Linked DNA regions of Homo sapiens: region 2 is linked to region 1. The links are contacts of gene promoters, found by promoter capture Hi-C in human tissues and cell types (Jung and others, 2019). All regions are on one chromosome and are shown on one strand. Each heading gives the region's core, a stretch centred on a gene start or on the middle of the fragment in contact. The rest is flanking DNA. Distances are from core to core; before and after follow the strand shown. Region 1 holds the start of MRO (maestro). Region 2 has its middle 43 kb from the start of MRO.

The links. Contacts are between HindIII fragments. The study calls those that stand out against the background at their distance.
Region 2: a contact is called between a fragment that was not itself captured here and the fragment with the promoter of MRO in region 1, in 1 of the 25 tissues and cell types used here (pancreas).

What each region holds. Positions count from the first base shown.
Region 1 is chr18:50,818,562-50,821,388 of GRCh38, reverse strand. It overlaps MRO (maestro), which reads left to right and starts at 1,373. Exons shown (of 8, transcript NM_031939.6): 1 at 1,373-1,492; 2 at 1,687-1,808. RefSeq lists enhancers at 1,169-1,218, 1,055-1,688. The HindIII fragment of the contact is 21,582 bases long and covers 1-2,827 here.
Region 2 is chr18:50,775,806-50,778,505 of GRCh38, reverse strand. No RefSeq gene overlaps it. Among named protein-coding and RNA genes, the nearest start is that of MRO, 43 kb to the left of the region's middle. RefSeq lists an enhancer at 1,628-2,335. The HindIII fragment of the contact is 4,394 bases long and covers 1-2,700 here.

The DNA.
Region 1 (2,827 bases), core at 124-2,623:
TTGAACTCGCCCATTCCTCTCAGTTTTGTGTTGATGTATCTTCATCTCTGTGGCTGCCTCCCAGTTGCAGGCAGAGGCAGCCATCTTTCTTCCTCCTCCAGAGCTAACCCTTTCCCTCGTGCCCTTGATGCCCCCTCCACCTCTTCCTATTACCACTACTTGGCACCAGCCACATATTAGGGCTCCCTTGCAACCACTTTCAAACAAGGCCAGGCTTTATTCCATTTCAAAAAGCACACAAGAAAACCAAAATGCTTTTGCCTGACCTTGCTGTCTCTTCTAGTCTATTTATTGCTTTCCTTTTGCAGCAAGACATCTCAATTTCCTCTTTCCTCATAGCCCCTTAGTTTTGCAGTCTAGCTTCCTTTCTCTGTCACTCTATTGAAATTGTGTCCTCAAATGTCACAGTGGTTCCCTTGTAACTTAATCTGAAGAGGGTGGTGTTTTAGCCTCATTCTTCTTATTTTCTCAGCAGCATCGATTTTCTTTCTGCCTTTTTCTTTCATCTTCCACTCTGACATAGTTCTCTGGTTTATATTTTTCTGTTTATCTCCTGGGTTTTCTAGACCAGTCCAGTGCATAGCATCATGGCTGAGTCCAAGCTCTTACATTAGCCTGCCTGTAGCTGAATTTTAACTGCCACAAATTAACTGCATGACCTTTGTCAAGGTAATCTCCCTGTGCCTCAGTTTCTCCAGCCTTAAAATGGAGACTATAGTAGGAGTATTAACCTTTGGTTTGATGTAACAATTGAATGAGATAGTCTATGTAATATTTATCACAACATTTGGCACACAGAAGTTTTAATTGAATGTTATCTATTAGCATAACAATAAGTGCCTCTGTCTTTGAAAATATAACTGTTCTTTTTTCCTTTCAGGACATATTTTCTCCCTTTATGACCCAATGCAGAGCGAGACGATAACTAATTATTGTTAAATAGATTTATGCACGTGTTTGGAGAGTCAGGGAAGGAGGGCTGATGAGAGAGAGAGGCTCCTAAATTCTGCAGGTGCTGTAATTCCCCGGTTTTAATTTTGCTTTGCTTTTTACCAATAAATCATTTTGAGAGCTTAAATCGCTCCTTTCGGGACATACGGTGTTTCTTGAGCAGGAAGGGACGTCAACGGTTAAAGCTCTTGTTGTTGGTGCAACAATCAGCCACGATGAGGCTGCTTGGCATGGAACACAGTGTCCCATCCTTAGATTAAATGCGCTCTAACAGGATTATGTAAGGAAGGAGGCAGCCACGGCGGCGGCTTTGTGCAGGGGTCGCCTGGAACCCGTCCATTGAGTCATGCCGCCATCTCGCGGCCGCATGGGGAACGGGCCTTGGCAGGGAGGTTTTGTTTGGTGCAGAGGAAAGGTCCCCAGAATTGCCATCTGCAGAATTTCTGCAGAAAGTGTCGACCAGGCTGGCATGAGGGAAGAAGGAGGGGAAATCACAGCAAGGAGAAGGAAAAACACCTCAGCATGGCGTGGGGAAGCAAAGGTAGCAAGTCATGCTTGTGCCACCCTACAATATTCTTGTCGGTTTCATTCCAGAACAATTCCCTCCCCTGCCCAAATACTCTATAAACTTTGACTTTCCCCTCTTATTTGATTCTCACTTTCCAACACTCTGTGCCGACCCGTTATCCTGGACAGACCCTGCGTCACCTCCTAATTTCCCTTCTTGTATGTTAGGAATTCAGGGCTGGGAAAATTTAGCCGAGTCATCACATTTGGCTACTACCCGGGAAAGCAGCCCTCCCGAGTCAGGAACGGGCTCCGGTTCATCACGTGGCAGCCGCCTGCAGGAGCCGCAGGTAAGGGACACTGTTGGCCGGGGCAGCCAGATGCAGCGGGAGGCGTCCTGGCTGCACTTGGGTTCCCAAAACCTTTCTGGAATGTCACTCTGGTCACCAGTATGGGAGCTCGACCTCTAGGGGGTAGGATTTGGTAATGTTCTCTTTGTAAAACTGAAGTGGGCAATGTTGACCAGGAAGCTGATTTTGTTTGCTTTTCACAAACTATGTTAATCGATCAATAGTTGGGTTATAGATCATTCTATTGTCAGCAATATAATAGAATGGCAGGGACTCAGGGAAGATATTGACACTTTAAACTGAAATGTCTATGCGGTCTGTCTTCCCTCGTTCAGCTCACAGGACATTGCCTGGGAGCTGAACCTAGGCTTATAGCACAGTGACTGAAAGGATATCTTTCAGAGTCCTAAAATCTGCTCTGCCAGTATTTGACTTTGAGTTAATTGTTCAACATTACTTTAAGCCCAGTTTCTTCTTTTCTAAAATGAAGACGATTTTTTTAATATTAATTTTTTTTTTCATTTTTTTGAGACAGGGTCTTGTTGTGTTGCCCAAGCTGGGGTGCGGTGGCCCGATCTCGGCTCACTGCAACCTCTGTCTCCTGGGTTCAAGTGATTCTTCTGCCTCAGCCTCCTGAGTAGCTGGGACTACAGGTGTGCACCACCATGTCTGGCTAATTTTTGTATTTTTAGTAGAGGCGGGGTTTCACCATGTTGCTCAGGCTGGTCTTGATCTCCTGACCTCAAGCAATCTGCCTGCCTCAGCCTCCCAAAATGCTGGGATTTATAGGCATGAGCCACCACACGCAGCCTACTATTGTCATTTATAAGTTCAGTGTTGGAAGGATTTTTAAGCAATCTAACAGTTTCTTCTGCTCATTTTACAGATGAGATAAAATCAAAGTGTTTTATAATTTTGGCCTTCATAATATACCTTTTGGCTTCAATAAATAAAAGGATTATTGACCAAAAATCTAATATTTTGAGTCAGAATCATTCAAGTTTGCAAAAGCAGATGGG
Region 2 (2,700 bases), core at 101-2,600, 43 kb after region 1:
AGAAAGTGACATTCTTTACTGGCCACAGGTCAGGAACCCTGTACAGGGACTGTGAAGATGAGGGTATGAGGCCAGTTTCCCCATGGGGCTTTTATTGGCTCTGCAATTCGAGCTTAACTCCTTAAAGGGAAGCATACCCTTCCAGTCAAAGCCTTAGTAAAATAACCATTTTCTCCAATTCTGTCCTGTTGCAAAAGAAAAACAAATTCTTATTGAACTGATGCAAACACCTATATTTCCATAGGTTAAGAATACTCAAAGATAGTTTCTAAGTTCTGGAGGAACCAGGCAGAGAGAAACAAACATCCTCCAAATTTTGATCATAGGATCAAAATGCTTAATTATTAAAGGCTGTAAATAGCTCAAAATAAGTTTCCTTGACTCTGAAAAACAAAACAAGGATCAGCAATATTCCAAGCAAAAGTCAAAAAGGTTGCTTCAGCTTCCTGAGTTCAGTCCATTTAGTTAACTCTTGTTTTGCTAGATATTTGTGAGCATTTCAGCTCATGAGTCCTGTACATTTTCCTGTATTCCAAAGTCACAATATCCAATTATCAGAAGCCTGTATTTGAGTGCACCTGTCAAAGTCCTACAGCTTATTATGAACTACGTTTTGAAAGGATTAAAACAAGACAACAACTGTCTGTGAATAGCAAAATGTCCAGGATAGTTACAGTTAGAAACACAAATGACAAAGAAGTGTGGTTATCTTCTGTGGTTTACAACAACGTAACATAACAATCTTAGTTATAATTGATAGCATATACTCAGACATTAGAATTTCAGCAATCTCATACAATTTTGGAACACATATTAGCATTATTCCCCAATATATAAACTAAAGAAGATTGAGCATTATTTTGGCAATCCCATGTACCTAAACATGTCAAACAATCCTGTTTACCTCTCTTTTCTGGACACTTCAGGCACCCTCTGAAGTATCTGAAAAGCTAGGTGCCATGGAAGACAATTTTGAAACTGAAGTTTGATTTTGGGAAGGCTGTTAATTGTTTGAGGTTTAAAACACTTGATATTATGAAATAGAATTCCAGATTACCATAAGTTATTTATTTTGCCAAAGAGCAGATTAGCGCCTTAGGAAAACTTTGTTATGCTTTTATTTCAATGCTCAACTTACAGAAAAACCATATAATACCCTTTTTTGAATTTAGTCAATATTTTCACACAGAGAACCTCTTCTCCAAGATTAATTTCCACAATTCTTCCACCACTTCTTTGAACCTTCAGCTTTTCCTATCTAACTCAAAACAATCCTTTAACCCTAGACCACAGTTTACATTTCCATGCCTTCTCATAACCTTTTCCAAAAAACAAAACAAAACAAAAACCACATTTTATTGTTTTTATACCCCTTGATTCTAAATCTATTTCCAGTAGTCCACAATTACATGTTATAATGGTAATCCCTCCTAATTTTTAACTTTAAGGTAAAACTTGGTAAGTTGCTTTAATTGTGTGCTAACTGCAGCCAAGGTCTGCCTTCTTAGTTAAAGGGTGGTTACTTCCACATGTCCCTAGGCCTTGCCAGTTGTGAAGCTGGCAAGTCAAATAGTTCTCAAAACCCAGAAAGCAGTTTGTAACCTCAAAATACTTAACAAACCTTGCCTCTGACCTGCATTTTACCAATAGTCTTTAGGGCTGTTTTTTTTTCTTGAAGGTTAAAGTCACCTGAACTGAAAGGTACTACAGCCTTTACCTTGCCTTAAGAAAAGTAGTTGATCCAAGGGTTTGCGCTTCTTTATGCCAAATTAATTAGAGCTCTTTTTACAGACATCATACACAGTACACACATTCATAAGAGAACCCAGTCACTGGCTGGGGGCCTTTAAGAGACAGGGATAGGAAAACATGCAGCTATCGAACCCGAGAGGGCTCATCCCCTCAGGCAGGACTGCTAAACAAAGCTGCCAAGTGGCTACCAGCTATGCCCTCAGGATAGAAAACAAGATGGAGGCTTGATTTCACAGCCAAAACTTTGCAGATAATACAGTGATAGTTGGGGGAGCGGTGGGGGGCTGGGGGGGTTGCCTAGCCTAGTAAAACATCTTCTAAAAGAAAAAACATTTTTTAAAGTTAACTTGCTGACTGGGTAGAGAAGGGGAAAGAAAAGAAAAAGTTTAATGCCTGGGGAAGAACGTCTTATTCTTATGCAAGTGGTTCCTCCACCAGGGAGACAAGATTTTTTTGTTCTGTTTTGTTTTTGTTTTTTGAGACGGAGTCTCTCTCTGTTGCCCAGGCTGGAGTGCAGTGGCGCGATCTCGGCTCACTGCAAGCTCTGCCTCCCGGTATTCTCCTGCCTCAGCCTCCTGAGTAGCTGGGATTACAGGTGCCTGCCCCCACGCCCGGCTAATTTTTTTTTGTATTTTTAGTAGAGACAGGGTTTCACCGTGTTAGCCAGGATGGTCTCCATCGCCTGACCTCGTGATCCGCCAGCCCCAGCCTCCCAAAGTGCTGGAATTACAGGCATGAGCCACCGCGCCCCGCCAGGAGACAAGTTTAAGCTTAATCACTGTCCGATATTGTTAAAGCCCTTGGCCAGGGAAGGGGAAGGATGCATGTTGCTGGGAACCAGACAGCCAGCTGTGCGGGACGCTTGGGCCATGCATCCCAGCCCCGGCAGGGAGAGGGGAGCCATGGTGAGCTCCCTGGTGGGTCCTGAAAAAGGAAGGAAAAGGCAGT